Regions from separate parts of the Homo sapiens genome. Here regions 2, 3, 4, 5, 6 and 7 are each linked to region 1. Evidence: promoter capture Hi-C in 16 types of primary human blood cells and fetal thymus (Javierre and others, 2016). All regions are on one chromosome and are shown on one strand. The core of a region is centred on a gene start or on the middle of the fragment in contact, and the rest is flanking DNA. Distances in the headings are between cores, read along the strand shown.

Region 1 (3,512 bases), core at 722-3,221:
CAGCCCACCGGGTCCTGAGTCCTCTCTCTGGTGACAAGTGGGAAGGGTGTGAGAACTGGAGACTGTCCACATGTGGCTTCATCTAAAAGGTATGACCAGAGGCATTACTGACATCCCAGGGGATTCCTGACCCTAGCTGACAGGTGCCCCAGTTAAAACACACCCCAAAGCTAGGGCTGCTGGAACAGAAAACAGCTCCCCTCAAAGGTCTGCAGCAGCCCCTCTGCAGGCACACCGCCTCAGGCTACATATCCTCAAATTCAGGGGATCTTGGAATAACTCGTGCATTGCACAATCCCACTAACAAGTGCGGAAAATTAAGTTACTTTAAAATTACAAACTTGGGCCAGGCGCGGTGGCTTCCCAGCACTTCGGGAGGCCGAACTGGGCGGATCACTTGAGGTCCGGAGTTCGAGACCAGCCTTGACCAACATGAAGAAACCCCGTCTCTACTAAAAATACGAAATTAGCCAGGCGTGGTGGCGCACGCCTGTGATCCCAGCTTTTCGGGAGGCTGAGGCAGGAGAATCGCTTGAACCTGGGAGGCAGAGGTTGCGGTGAGCCGAGATCACGCCATTGCACTCCAACCTGGGCAACAAGAGCGAAACTCCGTCTCAGGAAAAAAAAAAAAATTACAAACTTGAAGATTTAAGCCAACCTTTCATCACACTTGTGTTCACGTGCATATTTTTCCATTGTAAATATGACACAACCCAAAACCTTCTAATCCCATTGTTTTTGAAATCTACCTTGAGACTGTTACAGTCTAAAGGACACCTCATGAGTACAACTACCTCATCTGCCTCTCATCTTGCCAGCATCTTAATCCTGTGTGACTTTCTCTACATTCACCTAAACTTAACCCTTGCTCATTTGCACTCAGTCACCGCTCCAAGGCCAAGGGGAACCGTTCAGAGAGAACCCCCAGCGGGAGGGCAAGCCCCACTCCTAGCCGGGCCACTCCCCCGCTCCACACGGCATTTGGGTCTTTCTGACATTTTCCCCCACGAATGCAAGACACCGGGGCAGCCTCTGAGGGGGCAGCCAGACAGCCCCGGACCGGGCTGCGGAAGAAAGAGCGTGGCCTTTGTTTACTGCGGTGACCTTAGGCGTAGAGGAAGCCGACGCCCGCTTCGCGGCCCCAGCCCTACCCCCTCCCCTCCCACGGCCCGCTGCCCCCACCCCCGCCCTGCCCCTCCCCCAGGCCCGCCTCCCCACGCCCCACCCAGCCCTTCCCGAGTCCGCTCCCCACGACCCTGCCCCTACCCAGGTCGGCTCCCCAGAGACCATGCCCCACCCCGGGTCAGCTCCCCTATCCCCTCCTTCCCCAACCCTCCCCTCTCCAGACCCTGCTCCCCCGACCTGGTCCTGCCCCTCCCCCACGTCCGCTCCCCACTGCCCTCCCCACCCCTGGCCGCGCTAGCCTAGTGGCCGTTGGGTTCTGGCCACGATCCGGCGGTGCCGGGACTTGCGCGGAGACCCCGCGGGGGCCACCACTTCCTTCCGCGATCGCGCTTGGTCTTGGCAGCCGCAGGGCCCGGGTCTTCGGGCGGCGGGCGGGGGCGGCGGGGCCTCACCGAGATAGATGTCTCCGAAGGAGCCGCTGCCGATCTTCCGGCCCAGCCGGTACCTGTTCCCGACTCTCAGCTCCATGGCGGCGGCGGCCCGATTCGCTCCTGCCCTCCCGGCCGCTTCCTGGGTCTGAACTCTGGGAGGCGGCGCCGCTGCTGCCGCTACTGCGGGTCCGGCTCCCGGCTCCGCCCCCCTCACGGCCCCGCTTTCACCATCGCTTTCCTGTCGCCCCGCCGCTCCCAGCGCCTCAATACGGGGCGGATGGGACAGTCCGAGCGCCGCCGCCGCTGCTCCGGCCCCTACCGGTCCCGCTTGCCCTCTCCCCGCCGCGGATGGACTCGGATCTTCCGGGCCTAAATCCCCTTTCAGCTGCCTAAAGGAGCCGCCGCCATCGCGCTGTGACGTCACTTCCCCTAGCAACCCGGCGGGGCGGGGCCGCGGCGCTCCAGGGGCGGGGCCGGGCGGGGCGAGCGCTCCAGGCCTCCTCCCGACCCTGCGCCGTGCCCAGCCCCTCTGCCCTCCTGTTACCCCGGGACCTCGGGCCGCCAGCCCCTTCCACGTGCAGGCTCCTGCTGCTCTCGCGGGGGCTTTTCGTGTGTCCCCCGAGATGTCGAGGAAGCCAGGTGAGTTCCTCGCGACAGGCGGTGCCCTTTGCAGGAGGGGACAGGTAGCTGAGGCGTGGACAGAGTGACAGGCCAGGCTCAGGGGACACAGGTGAGACCCCCTCACTGGGCTGCCAGTTCCCGGGCTTGGGGCATCCCAGTACGTCAGCGTCTGCGGCCTTACCTCCTGACACCTAAGGCCAGAGACAGAGCAGGCCCGCGCCCTGGGAGGTCCTGATGTCCAGCCTGAAGATTGAGGACAAAGCCACCACCTTTCACAAAATGAGGCCAGACCACCTGCCTCCCTCCAGTCCCTGCGGCCTGGAGACGGAGTCAACATTCTTATCTGTGTTGGATCTGAATGTTCCTCCTTGCAAAGGAAACAAGGAGTGGACGTTCAGGCTGATGGCCAGCTTCAAAGATCGGGGCCTTTGATTCCCATCACTGGGAAGAAAGCCCTTCAGACAAGCCCCCCCAGGCTGCAGGTGCATGGGGACCTTGAAGAACCCGTCCCCATGGTCCCACGTCCATGTGTCTCGAGACCTGTCGCATCCTCGCTGAAACTCAAGAATGTGAAACAGGTGAAGGTGTGTTTTGACGCATTAGCATACCAGGGCTGTGGTGTGGGCACCGCCGTGTGAGTGAGACAGCAGCCTCAGCCCGTCCAGGTCACTGCAGAAGAGGAAAGCAGCCCCCACAGGCCCCACAGTGGTGCTCGCCTTTCTCCACCCCCCAGTCTTTCCTCTCCACCCCTCAGCTCCAAACAGCTGGAGGTCAGGTCGGGGAGACGGGCGTCCATTCCCGAAATTACATAGCAGGGCCTGGAGACAGGAGATGCCGCCGGCCAGACCACCATCAGTCACTAATGAGGGATGGGCAGTCGGAACTGCCCAGTTTCTGAGTTACAGAAGCCGGGGGTGGGGGGCTGCCAGACTAGTAAAACTGACCTTGTTGGCGGAATCGCTCACGGCTTTTCTGTTGATGAACAGAGTCCAGCTCTCCCACGGGTGGCTGTGATCCTTCTTCCTGGGGAGTCCTGCTGTCCCTGACTAGGGGCACCTGCCCACCTGTCAGCTGCTCCTCCCTCGGCTGGTCCTCCTGGGCTCTGATGGCCCCAACATTTCTAGCTCTTCTCACCCATAGTGCCCCAAGCTTCATGCAGCTGCGGCAGGTACTGTGCCCGTCTGCCTGGCTTTTGTGTGTTTGTGTCTTGACTCTATAACCCGTGCACACGGACTGGGCTGTGGTGTAGTGGGGATGGCAGGAGCCCTGGGAACATGCGGGCTGGGCAAGGTGAGGCAGGCTGATTGCTGTGGCTCCCCCACCACCAGCCCCAGC
Region 2 (3,364 bases), core at 243-2,742, 250 kb before region 1:
AAGCCTCAGTGACTTTCTCTTTCTGAATTCCGGCAAGAATCTTCAACTCCACCACCAGAGTTCCCCACACCGACACCCCCCGCCCCCCACGCCTGCTGCCTTGGGTGATAAAGAAGGGCCTGATTCAGGAGAAACAGAATTCTCCCTGCTTCTACAGGGCTGAAGTCCTCCCTCCAGGATGGGTTCACAAGGGCCTGAGACCCTCCCTTCCCAGGCCACAGAGGCCCACGAGGCCCTGCTGACATCGAGGAAGCTCGGTGCCCCAACCTTCAGGTAGAGCAGTAGAAAGGTTCAGAAACCACTCTGCCTGCACCGATGGGGTCCTCTGCACATGGCACCCCCAGAGAGCTCCACTTCCAGGAACAGGGAAGAGCAGGGCACGCCCTCCAGCCTGGGCGGATCCTGGCTCAGACGGCCTAGGTCTGACCCTAGCCCTGCTGAGTCACTTAACGCCCCCGTGCCTCAGTTTCTCCACTGGCAGGTGGGGTTAATCCCTGTCAAGTGTGTGTAACGTGGAGCACCGAAGAAACCACGCGTTCCTAGCCCAGTGCTGGCGCCCACCGGGGAGCAAACAAAAGGGAAACCACTGTGCCTGGCGGCTGGGGTAGGTCCTGCCGGCTCCTCGGGCTGGACGATCTCACTGTCCCCGTCCTGGGGCCTCATCTCCCCTTAACAAAAGACCCCAGGCTCAGGGCGCAGGGCGGCGGCCCAGCTCCTCCTCTCTCTTCGCCGGCTTGGACTCCGCCGTGACGGCGCCCACCCCTGCCTGTTTCTGCAGACCCTCTCCACCTTCCCGCAGCCCCGGCTGCTCCACGCCCCCTCCTACCAGCTGCGAGACACCAGCCCACGAGGGCGCGGGGCGCGCGGCCCGGCCGGAGATGGAGTCTGAGAACGGGCCCAACCTCAAAGGCACAGGGGGCGGCGCGGGGGCTGGCGTCTGGCCCTCACAGTGTCACGCGTGAGGTCGGGACGGAGCGTCCGCGCCTGCCTAGCCCCTGCCCTCCGGCCCTCACCTTCCGGAAGCCGGATCCAGCTCCTGCTCCCTCCATGACCGCAGCCTCAACGCGCGCCCACCGGAACCCCGCCCCGCGCCTCCAGCCAATGAGACCGGAGCGCGCCCCCGGAGCCCCGCCCCGCGCCCCTAGCCAATGAGTCCGAAGCGCCTGCTCTCGGAGCCCCGCCCCCACGTCTCAGCCAATGAGCCCGGAGCGCGCCCTCCAGCAGCCCCTCCCTCACGTCCCGCAGCCAATGAACTTGGAACGCGCCCTCCCGGGGCACCACCCTCACGACCCTCAGCCAATGAGCCCGGAGCATGCCCTCCCGGGGCCCCACCCTCATGCCCCTAGCCAATGAACCTGGAGCGCGCTGCCCCCTCTCAGCTTGCGGCCCGAAAGGCGCGCCAGTTCCTTTGTTCTCATTGGCCCGCACCAAGCGCTGCCTGCGCAGAGCCTGCTAGGAGTTGTAGTTCCCGCGGCCTCTCCCGGCGCGCCTTGTTCTTCCTGGATACTGAGGCCCCGACGCGGCTGTCGCGAGGGCGGGGGTCGGGGCTGCAGGCGGGGCAGGGCTGGGTGGGGGCGCGCGACGCACCTGCCTGCTTCCTGCACGGGTGGTCCCCAAGCACTGCGGGGCCCCAGCCCAAAGCGGACCTTGACTACCGCCCAGCCCCGCGCTCCCAGGACCTCCCGCCCGCGGAGCCCACTCGGATTGCTCTCCGCCCGGGTCGGCGGAGGCCCCGTCTCCTGTACCCGGCGCTGGGACTGCTCCGCACCGCGCGGCTCCCTTTCAGCAGCTGCGGGAGCATGCGGAGGAGGCCCTGCCGGCCCCGCGGGTCATGGAGGAGTTCCGGCGCTCCTACAGCCGCCTGTGCAGGGAGAGTGGGGCCGAGCCCCAGGAGGCTGTCCTGCAGCAGCTGCACCAGCTTCCCAGGGGCCGGCTGGACCTGGCCACGCAAAGCCTGACGGTGGAGACCTGCAGGGCCCTGGGCAAGCTGCTGCCGAGGGAGACGCTGTGCACGGAGCTGGTCCTGAGTGACTGCATGCTCAGCGAGGAAGGTGGGCAGGCGCGGCGGGGTGGATCCCTCTGCTCCTTAGCTGCCCACACCATTGCCTCGGCAGCCCGAGGTCGCTTCCTCTCCAGGCTCTCCAATTTCTGTGCCGTAGTTAAAGCGAGCAGGGGCGCCCCTTCCTGCACCTGGGAGTAGAGGGCAGTTCCTCTGTATGACGGGGGAGAGGCCTTAACATTCGCGGTCTTACCTGGTTCCCCGCGTGCAGAGCCGGCTTGGTGCCTGGCAGGGGCTGCAGGTGTTTCAAACATGACTTCGCAGCGAGACTCTTGGCCAGCGCCAACCCAGACCATCGGGACAGTTGTCCCTTCCTGGGTCTAGGGAGCTGCCCTGAAAAGGGGCCCACGGGGAGGGCCTTGGGGTCAGCAGGGGCAGAGAGTGACCGCCGGCCCCCCTTACACAGGGGCCACACTGCTGCTCCGAGGCCTGTGTGCCAACACCGTGCTGCGCTTTCTGGACTTAAAGGTGAGATACCTGCACTCTTGAGTGTCCGAGTGTGCCACCCAAGGGCAAGAGGAGAGGTGGAAGATGCCAGGTCTCGGGGGCCTGGGGTCTGGGCAGGTGGCTGGAAGCTGTCTGTGAGTCCCCAGGCCGCTCTCTGATGGCCTCCTGTGTGTGACCATCTCCAGAGCAAGAGTTCACATTGGCAAACAAGCCGGCCCTTGGAAGCCCCCTGAAGACAGGGAGCCCAGGAGCTGAGGAAGGCTGCAGGGTGCACCCCAGGCTTGTCCCCTGGCTGACCAAGGCCCTTGGGGCATGGGCGGGAATTCAGAGCCAGTCAGGGCACGCGAGTGACTACCGGCCTGTTTCTCTCCTAGGGCAACAACCTTCGGGCTGCAGGGGCCGAGGCTCTGGGAAAACTCCTCCAACAGAACAAGTCCATTCAGAGGTGGGTGGTGGTCCCGACCCCAGGCCCTGTCTCTGTGTGGTTGAGGATTGGCCCCGAGCACATGCTTCTGCAGCCCAAGAGTTCCCCATTGCCAGGTGCCCATGTTTCACATACGTTGGCAGGGGTAGGCAGAGGCTCCGGCCCATCAGACCCCAAGCCCACACCCGTCCCCAAGCCCTGGACCCCACGGGCTAGGCAGTCCCCTAGGTGAACACTGGCTTCTGCCCCTCCTGCAGCCTCACGCTGGAGTGGAACAGCCTGGGCACGTGGGACGATGCCTTCGCCACCTTCTGCGGGGGCCTGGCGGCCAACGGCGCCCTGCAGCGGCTGGACCTCCGCAACAACCAGATCAGTCACAAGGGCGCGGAGGAGCTGGCCCTAGCCCTGAAGGGCAACACCACCCTCCAGCAGCT
Region 3 (3,083 bases), core at 2-2,501, 230 kb before region 1:
ACACGCACACACGGGCATGCACACGTGAGCACACATGGCAATGCATGGACCAGGCAGCCACACAAGTGCACACATGGAGCATATGTGAACATGCAGGCCTGAGCATGGGGGTGCATGCACTGCAGCTGACAGGCCCACAGACATGCGTGTATACACATATGTATCCACACCCCCCACAGGCATGCACAAGTGAATATGTGTGTAGACACACAGTCGCACACGGACACACACGCTCTGGTCCATGGTGGCAAAGAGGACCCTGGAAATCAGCAGCTTCGGCTTCGATGTTGCTCTCTGTGAGGATCCCTGCTAGGAGTCAGGGTTGGCCAGGACCCTGTCCCTGGGCTCAAGTCCTCCTGCAGGAGAGCCACCCTCAGGAGGGGACAGACCCTGGTGCTCCCTGAAGCTGGGCCATGAGGCTGAGCTTGGGGGAGAGCAGGTGAAGGCGGCCAACGTGGTTACAGGTCTTGGGTGGCTGCTGGCCTTCCTGGCTGAGCCAGGTTTGCACCTGGTGCTGGGAGCTGGGCCTGAGCCTTGAGCTCTGGAAAGCAACCATAGGTGGGGGCTGGGGAAAGGCTCCCGCTCCAGGAGGAAAGCCAAGGGCTCCCTAAGGCCATATTGATTCTTCTGGACAATGAGGGGGTCAAAAAGACCTAAGAACCCCCAGCTCCCATCTTCCACGGGACAGCTGGCCGGTCCTTCCAGCTCTCAGGATGGTCCCATGTGGCGAGGCAACAGCAGGGGCCACTGTTCCTAAGACGACCGGATGGGGGTGGGGCCCTCCTGTTCGCGTCCGGCCTTCTGAGCCTCTGTAGTCCCTACAGAGAGGAGGATATGGGGCTCAGGCTTCCCCGGGAGCCCAAGGCCGGGAGGTATGATCGACTCTGCGGGTGTCTGTGGGCTCAGTGCTAGGCCCTTCCTGCCATAAGCACCCCCCGCCGTGGAGGAGCATTTGAGCTCACGGATGCTACAGAGAAAGTTTCCTACAGGGTCTCCTCTGAGGGCCATGGAAAGCCATGTGTAGACACTCAGCCTGCCCCCAGAGCCTTTGGTGCCCCAGGAGTAGAGCCAGGAGCCCTCCCCGCCACCTCCATGTGCCCTGTGCCTGGGCGCCCAAGCCTGTGGATCCCCCAGCATGGGCTAGGCAGGTCCTTCATTGCTCAGACCCCAGGCTTTGGGAGGTCGCATGTTTTGCCGTCTGCATAGCGAGGACGTGCTGGGTAGGAAAATGAACTCCAAGCCACGGCCTTCCTGGCCATTCTGTTGTCACCCGTCGTTTCCTTCACCTGCTGTGAAAGTGCAATCTTGCTTCGCTGCAACCTCCACCTCCCGGGTTCAAGCGACTCTCGTGCCTCAGCCTCCTGAGTAGCTGGGATTACAGATGCCCTGCTAATTTTTGTATTTTTAGTAGAGACAGGGTTTCACCATGCCTAGCCAGGCTGGTCTCAAACTCTTGACCTAAGATGATACGCCCGCCTTGGCCTCCCAAAGTGCTGGGATTACAGGCATGAGCCACTGCACCCGGCCAGTTCTTTTTTTTTTTTTTTTTTGACGGAGTCTCGCTCTGTTGCCCAGGCTGGAGTGCAGTGGCGTGATCTTGGCTCACTGCAAGCTCTGCCTCCCAGGTTCACGCCATTCTCCTGCCTCAGCCTCCTGAGTAGCTGGGACTACAGGCGCCCGCCACCTCGCCCAGCTAATTTTTTGTATTTTTAGTAGAGATGGGGTTACACCGTGTTAGCCAGGATGGTCTCGATCTCCTGACCTTGTGATCCGCCTGCCACGGCCTCCCAAAGTGCTGGGATTACAGGAGTGAGCCACCACGCCCGGCCAAACCCGGCCAGTTCTTCTTTAAATGTTTGGTAGAATGTACCAGTGAAACCATCAGGCCCAGGACTTTTCCTTGTCAGGAGTTTTTTGATTACTGACAAGGCTGGAGTGCAGTGGCACCATCACAGCTTGCTGTAGCCTCAACTTCCTGGGCTCAAGCCATCCTCCTGCCTCAGCCTCCCGAGTAGCTAGGATTACACGGGCACACCACCGTGCCTAATTATCAATTTTTTTTTTGTAAAGATAAGGTCTTGCTAAATTGCCCAGGTTGGGTTCAGGTGATCCTCCTATCTCCGCCTTGCAAAGTGCTGGGATTATAAGGATGAACCACCATGCCTAGCCTCTTTTTTCTTTTAATTATTATTTTATTATTTTTTAAAATTTTTGTGGGTACATGGGAGGCATATATATTTATGGGGTACCTGAGATGTTTCGATACAGGCATGCAGTGTGACAGACACACATGACGGACTATGGGGTGTCCACCCCCTCAAGCATTTATACTCATTTTAGTATTATTATTTTTTAAATTTTTATTATTTATTTTATTTAATTTTCTTGAGACGGAGTCTCGCTCTGTCGCCCAGCCTGGAGCGCAGTGGCGCGATCTCGGCTCACTGCAAGCTCCACCTGCCGGGTTCAAGCCATTCTCCTGCCTCAGCCTCCTGAGTAGCTGGGACTACAGGCGCCCCCCACCACGCCCGGCTAATTTGTATTTTTAGTAGAGACGGGGTTTCACCGTGTTAGCCAGGCTGCTCTCGATCTCCTGACCTCATGATCTGCCCGCCTCGGCCTCCCAAAGTGCTGGGATTACAGGCGTGAGCCACTGTGCCCGGCCTATTTTAGTGTTATTTTTAAGCGGCTCCACACAGAGCAGGGCCATGCCACAGGCAGCGTGGCCCAGAGTAGCCTCTTTTCTAATGTAACGTTTGCGACTGTAAATATCTCCCTCAGCAAAATGGTATCTCCTAAGTTTTAAGTTGTTTTTATTTGTCTCCAGGTATTTTGTGATTTCTTCCTTGACCCACTGGCTAAGAGTGCGTTGTTACATTTCCACAAATTTGTGACTTTTCCAGATTTCCTTCTGCTGTGGGCTCAGAGATGAAACTTTGTATAATACATTTTATTCTGTTTAAGAGATGGGGGTCTCCCTATGTTGCCCAGGCTGGTCTGGAATTCCTGGGCTCAAGTGATCCTCCCGCCTCGGCCTCCCAAAGTGCTGGGACTATAGGCTCGTGCCACTGTGACAGGGTTTA
Region 4 (3,537 bases), core at 125-2,624, 230 kb after region 1:
CATTTAGAAAAGCTTCTGTCCACTGTGTATTCTCTTTGGCAACGCTCTAGACACTTTGAGGGTTGCTGTCAGATCTGGCCCAACCTCTCCTATGTGACGGGAAGGATTTCAGGCATTTCAAGTGCCCCGCGCAGTGACTGGCCCGGAATTCCGCGCGTCTTCCCGGTAGCGTTTTTCCTTTGTCTTTGGTAGAGGACTGGGGGTGGGTGGGGGGGTGGGTCTCACACTGTTGCTCACGCTGGTCTCGAACTCCTGAGCTCCGTGGATCCTCCCGCCTCGGCCTCCTACGCGCTGGGAGTGCAGGTGTGAGCAACCCCGCCCGGCCCAGAGCGGCTTAATACCAGCTTTCCAGCGTTGTGATTTCCGGAGAAACGCAGGCTGACTTCCATGTTTACTATTCACTCTTCTTCACTAATGACACCACGTACATTCTGTTCGTGATTTCTGTGTGACTCAAGTCCACAAATCCTTCGTGTGCTATGCGGAGCCTTTGTGATTGTTGAGGGTTCTCAAGATACTCACTGATGGGGCCGGGCGCGGTAGCCCATGCCTGTAATCCCAGCACTTTGGGAGGCCGAGGCGGGTGGATCACAAGATCAAGAGATCGAGACCATCCTGGCCAACATGGTGAAACCCCGTCTCTACTAAAAATACAAAAATTAGCCGGGCGTGGTGGTGTGTGCCTGTAATCCCAGCTATCGGGAGGCTGAGGCAGGAGAATCACTTGAACCTGGGAGGCGGAGGTTACAGTGAGCCGAGATCGTGCCACTGCCCTCCAGCCTGAGTGACAGTGAGACTCTGTCTCAAAAAAAAAAAAAAAAAAAAAAACCGGTATTCATTTATGTAAAAGACTCCCTGATGTAGGTAATGTCGGTCTGGTTTAAAAACCTATACAACCAAACAACATAGGCAATGTTTAGTCTTAGGAAAGACTAACCAACATCAGGTGGCAGTTTTTCTGTTTAAAAAAACCTATTTTGGCCGGGAGTGGTGTTTCACCCCTGTAATCCTAGCACTTTGAGAGGCCTACGTGGACAGATTGCCTGAGTTCAGGAGTTCAAGACCAGCCTGGACAACATGGTGAAACCCCGCCTGTACTAAAATACAAAAAATTAGCGCGGCGTGGTGGCGCCTGTAATCCCAGCTACTCGAGAGGCTGAGGCAGGAGAATCGCTTGAACCCGGGAGGCGGAGCTTCAGTGAGCCGAGATGGTGCCATTGGACTCCAGCCTGGGTGACAGAGCGAGACTCTGTCTCCAAAAAAAAAAATGGTTTCAAAATGTTTTGAGAAGCATCTGTTTTGTCTGATGTGTTTTAGTTGATTAAGTGCAAGTTGCAGGATCGGAATCTTGAACAATAAATCTTCCACTAAAAAGTGTTGAGTGGAATTACTGCTCGTCGTAACAGGTGTAATGAGACAGCGTGGTACTGAAACCAGCAAATTTGTGGGTGTGTCTGTGGCCAGCCCAGTGTGTGTCCTGCTGACTGGACCAGCTGTGGTTTTCCTGTCTGTGACCTTCAGCTCCCTTCTGCATCTTTGCTTTCTGTTTGGTGTGTTCTCTCATAATGTCTGTATCGTCATTTTCATTCTCCATATTTTTTTAGTTACGACGATTCTTTTCCTTCATGGTTTTGACCATTAGTGTTTTTAATTTCTGTTGTGATACAGTACTTTGTCTTGAGCTCCACAATTGTGTAATAAAATAACAATACACTGGCCGGATGCGGTGGCTCACGCCTGTAATCCCAGTACTTTGGGAGGCTGAGGTGGGCGGATCACGAGGTCAGGAGATCGAGACCATCCTGGCTAACACAATGAAACCCCATCTCTACTAAAAATACAAAAAATTCACCGGGCGCGGTGGCTCACGCCTGTAATCCCAGCACTTTGGGAGGCCAAGGCAGGCGGATCGTGAGGTCAGGAGATCAAGACCATCCTGGCTAACGTGGTGAAACCCCGTCTCTACTAAAAATACAAAAAATTAGCTGGGTGTGGTGGTGGATGCCTGTAGTTCCAGCTACTTGGGAGGCTGAGGCAGGAGAATGGCGTGAACCCGGGAGGCGGAGCTTGCAGTGAGCCCAGATCACGCCACTGCACTCCAGCCTGGGCGACAGAGCGAGGCTCCGTCTCAAAAAAAAAAAAAAAAAAATACAAAAATTTAGCCGGGCATGGTGGCATGCGCCTGTCGTCCCAGCTACTCGGGAGGCTGAAGCAGGAGAATCGCTTGAACCTAGGAAGTGGAGGTTGCAGTGAGCAGAGATCATGTCACTGCACTCCAGCCTGGGCGACAGACAGAGACTCCATCAATAAATAAACAAAATAACAATACACCACACATACTGACTTGCGAGTGTGTGAAGGGGTTCTGTCCTGAGAACACACATCTCTTCAGCTACTTTTGCTGTGTTATTAGCAATTTGTGTGTTATTTCTTCTGGAACTTCCAGAATTTCTCAGGACAATTGCATATGTTTCAGATGTGCAAAGCCTTGATGTGACTTCACACTCCAGGGATCACAGTTGGTGCTGCCACAGGCGTGTGCCCTGCAAGCACAGGCATTCCAAGAAATGGTTCACTGCAGCAAAATTTCTGCTGTGGGGCAGGGACCAGCTCCATAGAATCTGCCCTCCAGGAGGGATTTCCCATCCTGACCAGCATTCAAGAGTAGGTTCTCTGCTCACACTATGGGAGTCAGATGTTCGGAGAATGTTCCAGACTGTGTGTTGGGAAGTATTTCAAAGCTTGATCTCCCCAAGCCTTGTGTGCTCCTCTTGCCTGGGGCTAGTGGTCAGGAGCCCCGTGGGTCAATTTCTGGCCAGGTGAGCACGTGGCAGCTGGCCATAGCATAGCTGGGTCGAAGGGACTGCAGAGCCCAGCACAACCCCCATGCCTCCTCCAGTGCTTCCCCAGGAGGCAGGGTGGACACTGCCCTACCTGGGGCCCTATGGCTGGGCCTCAGATCTTCCCAGCCAGCCTCTTTGGCCAGGTGAACTCAAACTCCTGGACTCCAGGGATCATCCCACCTCAGCCTCGTGAGTAGCTGGGACTACAGGCATGAGCCACTGTGCCCAGCCAAAAAAAAAATTTTTTTTTTTTTTTTGAGAGGGAGTCTTACTCTGTCGCCCAAGCTGGAGTGCAGTGGTGTGATCTCGGCTCACTGCAACTTCCACCTCCCAGGTTGAAGCGATTCTCCTGCCTCAGCCTCCCGAGTAGCTGGGATTACAGGTGCTCACCACCACGCCCGGCTAATTTTTGTATTTTTAGTAGAGACGAGGTTTCACCGTGTTGGCCAGGCTGGTCTCGAACTCCTGACCTCAAATGATCCACCCTCCTCGGCCTCCCAAAGTGCTAGGATTACAGGCATAAGCCACTGCGCCCAGCCAAAAGATTTTTCTAAAATTATGGCTGTGGAGGTGTGGAGTCACTGGTAGCAGGAGCAAGAGGTGTAGACTTGATCATGCAGTGTTGGCAATAGCCAGTGGAGACCTGGGTCCCAGGTCCTGCCTCCCCACCCTCTACCTCCACCCCCAGTGGAGG
Region 5 (3,515 bases), core at 528-3,027, 160 kb after region 1:
TGTCACCCAGGCTGGAGCGCGTGGTACAATCACAGCTCACTGCAGCCCTGAGCTTCTGGGCTCAAGCTTCTGGGCTCAAGCACCTCAGCCTCCTGAGTAGCAGGGACCACAGGTGCGTGCCACCATACCCGGCCAGTTTTTTTTATTATTTGCAGATACCAGGTCCCACTATGTTGCCCAGACTGGTCTCGAACCCCTGGCCTCAAACAGTTCTCCCACCTCAGCCTCTCGGAGCGCTGGGATTATAGGCATGAGCCATTGCACCTGGCCCCATTTTGAGTTAATTTTTTTTGTTCATTTTCCTTTTTGTGAAGAGTGGGGTCTCACTATGTTGCTGGGCTGGTCTCAAACTTCTGGGCTCAGGTGATCTTCCCGCCTCTGCCTCCCTAAGTGCTAATTTTTTTTTTTTTTTTGAGACAGAGTTTCACTCTGTCACCCAGGCTGGAGTGCAGCGGCGTGATCTCAGCTCACTACAAACTCCACATTCCAAGTAGCTTCAGCCTCCCGAGTAGCTGGGATTACAGCGCCCGCCACCACACCCAGCTAATTTTTGTCTTCTTAGTAGAGACGGGGTTTTGCCATGTTGGCCAAACTGATCTCGTCGAACTCCTGACCTGAAGTGATCTGCCCGCTTCGGCCTCCCAAAGTGCTGGGACTACAGGCATGAGCCACCATGCCCGGCCTCCTTTCATTCTTACAATATATTCATAGTAGTTTTCTTGAAATATTTGATAAATTCTGCATGTGGGCCCTGAGAGTCAGAGTCTGTGAACTGGATCCTACTTTCCAGTTCATTTGCACATCTCAAAATTTTTGGTTGAGAACTGAACATTTCAGTTAATACATTATAGCAAAGCTGAATGTTTACTCTTTTCCCCAGTGGCTGGTGGTGGTCTTTTTGTTGTTTTCTAGCAAATGGCCTGCATTTAACCTGCAGGACCTGCCCCTGGCTGTGTGCACTCACTGATGTCTGTGCTGAGATTTTTTGGTTCTTATTTTTACATTTTAGCCTGGCTTCCTAGGGTCATCCCTCTGTCTTCATAGTTGGTGGTCAGCCAAGGGTTTGGGCAGAGGTTGTGCTCCCACACCTTGAGCCCACAGACCTCCTCCCCTTGCCACGGGGCTGTGTGTGGGCGGTGGGGGGTGCATCCCTAGGTTCGCGCAGTTCCCACCTGGCCCTCACAGGTCCCTGCACGTGTGTGTGGCCCCCGTCAGCCAGGCCTGAGGAGAGTGTGCAGCACCATCTGGCTTTCTGTTTCCAGGGTCACCCATTAAATCTGCAGCCAGTCTTGGCTCTCCCCAGCAGGGACTGCACCCTCTGGCAAGCGGAAGACAGGGCCTCTTCTCCAGTTGCTGCTTCTACTGACAGCGCCCCCACAAGGGGTGGGTTTTTAACCCAGCCTCAAGTTAAGTCTGCCCCTTTGGCAGCAAAGCTGTGGTTTCCACAGTGAGGGGGAAGGGGGCAGTGAGTAGCCCTAGGCCGAGGCCACAGAGTCTCTGTTCTTAGGCAAAGTTAGAGTGGTCTTTCATAGATAAACATTTTTCTGTTTTTTTCTTTTCAGAGACAGGGTCTCACTCTGTCGCCCAGGCTGGAGTGCAGTGGTGTGATCATGGCTCACTACAGCCTCAACTTCCTAGGCTCCAGTGATCTTCCCGCTTCAGCCTCCCAAGTAGCTGGACCACAGGCAGGTGCCACCACACCTGGCCACTTTTTTTTCTTAAACCGATTTGGTTTTTAAAAAATTTATGGCTGGGTGCAGTGGCTCACGCCTGTAATCCCAGCACTTTGGGAGGCCAAGGCGGGCAGATCACAAGGTCAGGAGATCGAGACCATCCTGGCTAACACGGTGAAACCCCGTCTCTACTAAAACAAAATACAAAAATTAGCCGGGCGTGGTGGCGGGCGCCTGTAGTCCCAGCTACTCGGGAGGCTGAGGCAGGAGAATGGTGTGAACCTGGGAGGCAGAGCTTGTAGTGAGCCGAGATCATGCCACTGCACTCCAGACTGGGCGGCAGAGCAAGACTCCATCTCAAAAAAAAAAAGAAAAAAAAAAAAAAATATATATATATATATATATATATATATATATATATATTTTTTTTTTTTTTTTATATATATATTTTTAGTCTGGGCGTGGTGGTTCACGCCTGTAATCCCAGCACTTTGGGAGGCCAAGGAAGGCGAATCACTTGTGGTCAGGAGTTCAAGACCAGCCTGGCCAACATAGTGAAACGCCATCTCTACTAAAAATACAAAAATTAGCCAGGCGTGGTGGCACATGCCTGTAATCCCCAGCTACTGGGAAGGCTGAGGCGGGAGGATCACTTGAACCTGGGAGGCAGAGGTTGCAGTGAGCCGAGACTGTGCCACTGCACTCCAGCCTGGGCAACAAAGCGAGATTCCATGGGGTTTCACCAGTTGTCCAGGCTGGTCTCAAATTCCTGAGTTCAAACATTCTACCCACCTCAGCCCCCACAAGGTGCTGGGATTACAGGACTGAGACTCTCTGCCTGGCCTAATTTTTTTGTATTATCTGTAGATTTGAAACAGAAGCCCCAGGTGGGCAGAAGGAGATCAGTCCAGCTCCTCCGCCCCCAACGCGAACTTCTCTGTCTCTCCGCAGTTTGTGCTGAAGCACACGGCCTTCGCCCACCTGCGGGAGGTGGGCTCCTTCCCCTGCACCCTGAACCCCCACGAGGCAGAGTCCCTGGCGCTGGTGGGCGCCATGATTGACCAGGTCCTGGAGCTACACCCAGGCGCCCAGCGGCTGCACATCGGGTGTGATGAGGTGGGTACTGTCACCCCAGCTCTGTGCAGGACACTCTCCCCTATCATGGCTTGTCCTTTTAAATAGGAAAATCTTCCAGGCACTGAGGCCTAGAGACAGGCTTGTTGTTCCCCTCAGGGCACCCCATCCAACATCTTCTCCGAGTGGATGGGCGGCCTGGCACGGGACAGCCTGCGGAGCCCGAGGGAGGCACCCTCGTGTCAGACGCGTCCAACATCTTCTCCGGGTGGATGGGCGGCCTGGCACGGGACAGCCTGCAGAGCCCGAGGGAGGCACCCTCGTGTCAGACGAGACCACCCCGGGCGGCTGGGCTGGCGGAAGCCTGTGGGTGATGGGCAGGTTCACGCCCCAGGACCAGCAGTGAGCATAAGTCAGGGTGTAACTCGAGGGACACCCTTTTGTTGCTGAGAGGAAGTTCTGCATTTGGACCCTGAAGCACCCAATGGAAAAGGTGGTCCCCAGGGGGTGCCAGAGATGTGCCCCCTCCAACCCAGTGAGCCCCCACCCTTGCCCCTCCTGCCACTCACTGGACTCCAACTCAGTCAGGGCCTGGGCAGGATGTGGAACTGAAAGGGGCGGGGTTGGTGCCCACGGGGCTGGGAGGTTCTGCAGGGCTGTGGCTCACAGGGAACCCGAGCTGAACATTTTAGCCCCAGAAGTTTCCTTTTTTTGAAGGAAACCTGAGTATGTAAAATACACTTAAGCTTTACCATTCTAACCATTTTA
Region 6 (3,509 bases), core at 30-2,529, 210 kb after region 1:
TCTTACTTGTCTGTCGGCCTTGCAGGGATGCTCCCATTTCCCAGTAGCCTCCAGGCCTGCAGGTTCCCATGACCCACAGCCGGGCCACCGAGGACGGGTTTTGGGTCCAGCACGAGCTCCTGGTAAGGCCTGGGGAAAAGGTGTTCTGGCTTCACCCTGGGGCGGCAGGGACTCGAGCTCAGCATTCCCTGGTGCGTTACAGGAAGACCAGAGGAAGCAGTAAGGAGCTGACCGTGGATCCCTTCTCTCCCCAGGCTGGGTCCGATACGCCGAGCGGGTGCTGGGTCGCCCCATCACTGCCCACCTCTGCACCGCCAAGTCCCCCCAGCAGGTCATGGGCTCTTTGGTGAAGGATTATTTCGCCAGACAGCAGGTAAGCTGACCTCTCTGGAGGGCAGGAAGGGCAGGTGAGGGAGGACCATGGCACAGGGGCCCAGGAAGGGGAGGTTCCCCATCTGTCCAGCGTGGTCACGGCCCCCCAGGTGAGCAAAAAGGAAGCTGTGGCTTCAGGAAACATCAGCAGTGCTGTTTCTCACCAACGCCCGTCTCTATTCCTCCCTTCCTCTTACAACCTTTTTCTTTCTTCTTAACCTTTTCTGTGGCATCTGGTGGTTTTCCTGGGCCCATTCGGGGTAGAGTAGAAATGCTGCCCACCCTGCTGAGAATGAGGCCCCGGACCTTGCCCAGAGATGCTGCCTGCCTGCTGTTGGGATGCCTCACCCAAGGAGGCCTAAAGTGGCCTGTGCCTGGAGGCTGAGGGCAGCTGTCATTTAGGGAGCCAAACCTGGCCTCTGCCCTGGCCTTTCCCTCAGACCACGGGCATCACATGACTTCCTTAGCCACTTCTGTGAGATTCCACAGTGGCCATGATGCTGTCCTCCTCTTGATGGAGTGAGTCCCGGCCTGAGGCTCCTGCGTGCCCCCTGCCTCGGCCCGTCGTGTTCTCCCTTCCCACAACCCTCTGCGGCCCCCAGGTCCTCCCAGAACTCCCTGATGTCTCCAAGGCCACCCTCAAAGGGACCCTAATCCCATGGTTTATTCTCCAGCCGCTGGCATGCCCCACACTGCTCTTCTCAATCAGACTTTACACCTCCCTCCGGGGAAGCAGCCATGTCCAGGCACTGTGGTAACTGGAGTAGAGGGTAACATCAGGATCTTTCAGACATTTGAAGTCAGCCTAAAAAGGCACGCACATTTGGCAGCCTTGTTATTTTAGCAATAGGCAGTGTTTTCCTTCTATCTAGTTTCTTTCTACCCATAAAGTCATAATTTGGCAAATTATAAACATGATGTCAGAGTATACACGTTCAGTTTAGGCAGGACCGAAAAATGAGCTATGGGACTTTCTGTCCCTTGCCCTGCCCCCACCTGAAGAGAGCCATGTGTTTCTAGGTCTTCCACGTGCTGCCCTCTCCCCTGGATGGAGCCCAGAGCTATGTGTCCTCCTGTAGGTGCCATGAGGGGCAGCCGCAGAGACCCGGCCTCCAGCAGCCTCTCACCTGACCACCTGGCACAGCTGCAACCAGGGGCGGGTTTCCTCTTTTGCTCCGCCCCTGCCCTGAGTGGGTCCTTTCCACCCAGACCTCACCACAGGGTCACTTGGCAACTGCTGGCTCCTGGCTTTGCCACCAGTTCAGGCCCAGCCACAGGCACCTGCTCTGTGTGGACCCAGGAGAGGGGTAGCTTGGGTGGGCATCGCTTGGGAAGATTCAGGAAAGTCTGTGGGTGAAGTAGCCAGCGCGCGCACACACACACACACACACACACTCACTCAGGCCTCCTGCAATGGCTCCATGCTGGACCAGCAACAGCTCCACGCCGGCTGGACTTCCTCTTACTTGTTTTGTCCCCATGTGCACAGGTTCAGGAGGAAATGGGCTCAGCCTTCCCGGTTCTTCCAGGAGGCTCCACTGGCTGGGGGGCTTTGCAGATGTTTGGGAGGACCACACCCAGTCCTGAGGGAGGCAGCAGACAGACATGGATGGAGTGCTGGTGCTCGGTAGAGTTGAAGAGGGGATGGGAGCCAGATGTGGCTACAGCACTTTCATCTGTGGGGCCCGGCCTCAGACCCACAACAGTCCCAGCCCCAAGAAAGTGCTGCATGCAGCCAGGCTCGATGGCTCACGCCTGTAATTCTAGTACTTTGGAGGCCGAGGCGGGCAGATTGCCTGAGCTCAGGAGTTTGAGACCAGCCTGGGCAACACGGTGAAACCCCATCTCTACTAAAGTACAAAAAATTAGCCAGGCGTGGCGGCATGCGCCTGTAGTCCCAGCTACTCGGGAGGCTGAGGCAGGAGAATCGCTTGAACCCGGGAGGCAGAGTTTGCAGTGAGCTGAGATCACGCCACTGCACTCCAACCTGGTGACAGAGCAAGACTCCATTTCAAAAAAAAAAAAAAAAAAAGAGTGCAGCATGCAGTGTCTGGAGGGCAGCAGCAGGGGGCATTCGGTCTCCCATCCCTCTTGTTCTGGGCACCAAGCGTAAGCTGCCGTCACCTCTTCACCAGCCCTAAATATGGGTGCCCCTCTCCCACAGAACCTGTCTCCAGAGAAGATTTTCCACGTCATTGTGGCCCCTTGTTATGACAAGAAGCTGGAGGCTCTTCAGGAAAGCCTTCCCCCTGCTTTGCATGGCTCCCGGGGCGCTGACTGCGTGTTAACATCAGGTGAGAGGTGGGCGGGGGTGCACCTGGGCGCTGGGGTAATCTCCTACTGGCCAGTACACACCAGAGCCAGGCAGATCTGTGTCCCAGAGCCATCTCAGTGCCTGCCAATGTGGTCGCTTGTCTGAAGTTACTGACAGCTGAGGGTCCTAGGGGCTTAACTGCAGGTGAAGAGAAGGGTCATGTTCGATCTAGCCTCCTGTCTCCTCTGTGCATCTTCCTCAAGATAAATCAGGTCTCAGCTGGGCACAGTGGCTCACGCCTGTAATCTAAGCACTGGGAGGCCAAGGCAGGTGGATCACCTGAGGTCAGGAGTTCGAGACCAGCCTGACCAACATGGAGAAACCCCGTCTCTACTAAAACTACAAAAAACTAGCCGGGCATGGTGGCACATGCCTGTAATCCCAGCTGCTCGGGAGGCTGAGGCAGGAGAATCGCTTGAACCCGGGAGGCAGAGGTTGCAGTAAGCCGAGATCGCGCCATTACCCTCCAGCCTGGGCAACAAGAGTAAAACTTTGTCTCAAAAAAAAAAAAAAAAGATAAATCAGGTCCTGGGAGAACCACTTGGGCAGTGTGGTGGCCCTAACTTTACATTACAGTCCATGTAAGGTACTTATCTCTTGGTGGGAAAGTTGTCTATAGCCATAGCGGGTCTCCTAATCACAAACCAAGTCTGCACTTAAAACACAAGTGAAGTTTTTTTCATTCAGAATAAAATGAAAAAGGCACGTTTGCTCCAGTGATATTGCCTTTACCACGGTATTGGCCACTCCTTTCAGATGTTAAGAGCCTACAGTGAGTTCTGTGTGTGTTGTGGATGGAAGTGATTCCCTGGAATTATGTAGA
Region 7 (3,488 bases), core at 226-2,725, 180 kb before region 1:
CTGCGCCTGTGTCGGCTTCCACTCGCCTGAGTCTCAGCCTTCCAAGGCTCCTGGAGCTTGTCCCAGGCCATCCCTAGGGCACCAGGGGGCTCACAGTGAGGAGCAGGCAGGGTCACCTGAGATGGGGACAAGGCCTCAGGTGGCCAGCCTGCTAAGGGCCATCAAAGAAATGGAGAGGCAGGGTCCCAAAGCCGGGGCATGGAGGTGGCTGGGAGCCCTAGAGGGGGGTACTCAGCACCCATGCTCACCCGTGTTGGGGTGGGGGCCCGCTGTCCAGGCCAGCCCAAGAGCCACCAGGGCTGGGGAGGGACGAAATGGGGATAGCCTATGCTCTGGGGGAAAGGTGGCCCCTGCCCCACTGTGGACCGACCCAGCCAGTCCAACCCCTCCAGCAGGGTCCAACCTGGAGAACCACTCCTGGCCAGGACACGCAGGTGTTGCCTGGCACCCTTCACCTGCGCGGGTGAACCCACAGACGCTTGCCTCCCCATACCAACCCACACACCACAGGAGGCCCTCCCTGGAGCCCAGGTCCCTAAGACCCGGAACGGGTGCCCAGGCCGCCGGCTCCTCCTCCAGCATGAGGGCTGGTGCGGCCCTGGGGGGAGGGGGCGGAGGCCAGCGCTGGTCTGGCCACTTGCACGAGGCCCCAGGGCCTGATACGCGCGCCGCCCCTCGGCAGTGCGGCCTCCCTTGGGCCGTCCCGGCAGGGAGGCGGCCGCCTTCCCACCCGCTGCGATTCACAGAGGCTTGGCTGCCCCGGGCCAGCTCCAGGCCCGCACGCTGGGTCCTCGCCGCTTGCTATTCACGCGGGGTCGACGGCCAGGCAGGGGGTGGGAACACCGCGGCGCGCCCGGCCTCCCTTCGCCCCGGGCGGGGGCTGCTCGGGACCCCTGCGCTTCGGCCGGGCTGCGCCACGTGATGGGGAGGCCGGTCCCGGCGCGGCCCCTGCGCCCCCCCGTTCCTCCCTCGCGGCGTCCCCTTCGGGCTGGGCCTCGGCTCCGGGGCGGCTCCGGGAGGAGGATGCGGCGGCGCCTTTGTGGGCGCGGGGAGGCCGAGCCGGGGGCTCCTCCAGGCCCTTCAGGGTCCGCGGCCTCCCCCACGGGAAGCGAAGGCGGCTGTTGGTGGCTTTCCCCGGCGTCCTTCCCCCGCCATCCGCCCACCTACTCCGCGGGGCCCCGGGCGCCTCCGAAGGGGCACGAACACCGAGACCCGGACAGGCCGCCCAGGCGACCCCTGGATACGGGGCCGGGCCACGCGCGCCCCGAGAGCGGAGGATGAGGAGCCGGGCCACCCCGGGAACCCCGGGCCCAGCCCCGACCACGACCCGCGCCCCGGCCCCAGCGCCGGCTGCTCGTACCTGGTGAGGGCGCGGGCGGCGGTGCGGGCGGCGGAGAGCGAGGCTGGAGCGCGGCGGAGCGGGAGGCTGAAGCGCGGCGGAGAGGGAGGCCGGGGCCGCTGCCGTCTCTCTGGCTCCCTCTAGGCCGGCGCCGACGCTATTTAAACCGCGGCCATCCCCGGGCGGCCACGCCACATGGGCTGACAGCTTGGCTGCGCCGCCCAGGCCAATGAGCGTCGGGGCTGCGCCCCGGGACCCGGCGCGCCGCCGCCGGTGGGGTGATGCTCGTGCGCGCCGCCGCCCGAGCCGGGACCCTGCGCGGGAACGCGCCTGGGGGGGTGGGGCTGGGACTGAGGAGCGCCGGGGGCGGGGCGGGCGGGAAACCACCGCCCCCCGACTTCCGCCTCCCGCCCCGCGGGCCCCGACGCGCACGCGGCTGCGACCGAGCCCGCGGCGCGCCTCCCGAGCCATCCCCGACCCCCGTGTCCGCCGGGGCCACGTGTGCGGGATGGGAATGCTTGGGCCACACTGGGGACTACCCCGTGGCCACACCGGGGGTCCAGCCGGCTGCGGCGGGGCGCTCGGACCCACAGGCGCGCGGAAGGACGGACGGACCCGCGTGCCCGCACTTCGGCCGCCGACTCCACGCCGCCGTCGCTGCCCGCGCGGAGCTGGCTGAGGGCGCGGCGTTGCGCGGCGCGGCGGCAGCAGCAACCAATCGGGCGCCAGGGGTGTTCGCACCGGCCCAATGGCGGCGCGCGGGTGGGCGTTGCTAGGCGATAGGGTGATGGGCGGGCGGCGGGGCGGTCCCGGATGCCTCGCGGGCCGCGGCGCAAGTGCGGGCGTTGACCCCGGCCGCGGGCGCCCCGGCCGGGGTTACTGCCGGTCATCGCAGCGCATCCCCGGTTTTCCTCGCGGGTGCGGCGGGGAACCCAGACCCGAGACGGACGTCCACCCACCCGACGGCCCCTCCTTAGCAGCTTCCCGGGGACCCGGACGAGGCGCAGGGCCGAACGGGCGAGCGCACTCCAGGCCGCTGGAGCTCGGCGGAGGGGAGGGGCGCGGCCACGTGGCGAGCGGAGTCGGCCGGGACACCCACCTGGTGTGGTGCGGACAAAGGGAGCCGCTGCCCCACTTCCCAGGGCGGAGGCTGCGAGTTTTCCAGGCGCGCACCCACGGGCGGGGGCTCAGCCCGGCCCTCGCGCGCTCCCTCCCTCCCGAGTGATTCCTCGAATCGTGGCCCCTTGGGCGGCCTGAGCCCTGAAGCGCGGCCTCCCTTTTCTGACCGCTTCGCGCTTGCGGGGCCAGGCACCCCATGGGGGGCAAGCGGGCCTTGTGAGGCCACAGGTGTCTCTGGCTGCGTGTCCTACTTTGAGGGCTCAGCAAGCCCGGGCCGCTGAAGGGGAACCGGAGACTGGGGCCCCCGGCCCCTCTGCAGGTGTCCCGCTTCCTTCCTCTCCTGAGAGCAGGCCTGAGGGTCAGGCGGCCACTCCGCGTCTTTTCCCTTCTGGGGCTGTGGTTGACGCACGGTGGGACCGAGGGTCAAGGAAGGACAAGGGAAGACAGGGCCGGGGCTGGCCCCGCACTGCTGTCCCCACTGCGGGGGTTCTTCTGATTCAGGGTGAGGCCCTGTGTCAGCCTCAGGCGTGCGGGCACGCAGCTCCGGCTCTCCATGCTCCAAACCTCCCAGGTGGCCCTGGCTGCCAGTGCTGGTGATCAGCGGCCAGCGGGGCCCTGCTCTCTGCAGCCTGTCGAGGGCTGGGCCAGCTACAGGGGAGCCCTGGCTGGCTCCCAAGGAGGTTGGAGACTCGTCCAGCACCCTGAGGGCTTCCACAGAAAGTGAGCGGCAGCGGCCGGGCTTGGTGGCTCACGCCTGTAATCCCAGCACTTTGGGAGGCCAAGGCGGGCAAATCACGAGGTCAAGAGTTGTAGACAAGCCTGGGAAACAGGGAAACTCCGTCTCTACTAAAAATACAAACATTAGCCGGGTGTGGTGGCGCGTGCCTCTAGTCCCAGCTACTCGGGAGGCTGAGGCTGGAGAATAGCTTGAACCCAGGAGGCAGAGGTTGCAGTGAGCCGAGATTGCACCACTGCATTCCAGCCTGGGCGACAGAGCAAGACTCTGTCTCAAAAAAAGAAACAAACAAAA

Evidence for each region. The method cuts DNA at HindIII sites, captures the fragments that hold promoters and counts their contacts. A CHiCAGO score of 5 or more calls a contact.
Region 2: the fragment with the promoter of LRRC45 here is called in contact with the fragment with the promoter of CSNK1D in region 1 in 6 of 17 cell types (neutrophils, total CD4 T cells, non-activated CD4 T cells and 3 more); the score reaches 8.9 in neutrophils.
Region 3: a contact is called between a fragment that was not itself captured here and the fragment with the promoter of CSNK1D in region 1, in 2 of 17 cell types (naive CD4 T cells and naive CD8 T cells). The highest score is 7.5, in naive CD4 T cells.
Region 4: a fragment that was not itself captured here is called in contact with the fragment with the promoter of CSNK1D in region 1 in 1 of 17 cell types (activated CD4 T cells); the score reaches 5.3 in activated CD4 T cells.
Region 5: a contact is called between a fragment that was not itself captured here and the fragment with the promoter of CSNK1D in region 1, in 1 of 17 cell types (activated CD4 T cells). The highest score is 5.8, in activated CD4 T cells.
Region 6: a fragment that was not itself captured here is called in contact with the fragment with the promoter of CSNK1D in region 1 in 1 of 17 cell types (activated CD4 T cells); the score reaches 5.7 in activated CD4 T cells.
Region 7: a contact is called between the fragment with the promoter of FASN here and the fragment with the promoter of CSNK1D in region 1, in 7 of 17 cell types (neutrophils, non-activated CD4 T cells, activated CD4 T cells and 4 more). The highest score is 10.9, in neutrophils.

Annotation. Positions count from the first base shown.
Region 1 is chr17:82,271,729-82,275,240 of GRCh38, forward strand. CSNK1D (casein kinase 1 delta) reads right to left here and starts at 1,972. Exons shown (of 9, transcript NM_001893.6): 1 at 1,578-1,972. The coding sequence starts at 1,653. LOC124904089 (a long non-coding RNA gene) reads left to right here and starts at 2,050. Exons shown (of 2, transcript XR_007065953.1): 1 at 2,050-3,345. RefSeq lists silencers at 1,372-1,421, 1,472-1,661, 1,902-2,111. The HindIII fragment of the contact is 9,296 bases long and covers 1-3,324 here.
Region 2 is chr17:82,021,813-82,025,176 of GRCh38, forward strand. LRRC45 (leucine rich repeat containing 45) reads left to right here and starts at 1,493. Exons shown (of 17, transcript NM_144999.4): 1 at 1,493-2,051; 2 at 2,466-2,527; 3 at 2,881-2,951; 4 at 3,188-3,364. The coding sequence starts at 1,832. CENPX (centromere protein X) reads right to left here and starts at 1,066. Exons shown (of 5, transcript NM_001271006.2): 1 at 1,014-1,066. The coding sequence starts at 1,049. RefSeq lists a silencer at 757-1,806 and an enhancer at 1,543-2,466. The HindIII fragment of the contact is 18,366 bases long and covers 1-3,364 here.
Region 3 is chr17:82,042,935-82,046,017 of GRCh38, forward strand. No RefSeq gene overlaps it. Among named protein-coding and RNA genes, the nearest start is that of DCXR-DT, 6.6 kb to the left of the region's middle. The HindIII fragment of the contact is 7,461 bases long and covers 1-3,083 here.
Region 4 is chr17:82,497,845-82,501,381 of GRCh38, forward strand. No RefSeq gene overlaps it. Among named protein-coding and RNA genes, the nearest start is that of TRX-CAT1-8, 4.8 kb to the left of the region's middle. The HindIII fragment of the contact is 2,729 bases long and covers 11-2,739 here.
Region 5 is chr17:82,431,034-82,434,548 of GRCh38, forward strand. It overlaps HEXD (hexosaminidase D), which reads left to right. Exons shown (of 13, transcript NM_001330542.2): 5 at 2,625-2,789. Among named protein-coding and RNA genes, the nearest start is that of HEXD-IT1, 7.5 kb to the left of the region's middle. The HindIII fragment of the contact is 3,427 bases long and covers 65-3,491 here.
Region 6 is chr17:82,478,546-82,482,054 of GRCh38, forward strand. NARF (nuclear prelamin A recognition factor) reads left to right here. Exons shown (of 11, transcript NM_012336.4): 6 at 255-373; 7 at 2,537-2,666. Among named protein-coding and RNA genes, the nearest start is that of TRX-CAT1-8, 14 kb to the right of the region's middle. The HindIII fragment of the contact is 4,536 bases long and covers 1-3,509 here.
Region 7 is chr17:82,096,761-82,100,248 of GRCh38, forward strand. It overlaps FASN (fatty acid synthase), which reads right to left and starts at 1,476. Exons shown (of 43, transcript NM_004104.5): 1 at 1,361-1,476. RefSeq lists an enhancer at 1-700 and silencers at 569-618, 679-888, 909-1,098, 1,169-2,648. The HindIII fragment of the contact is 59,862 bases long and covers 1-3,488 here.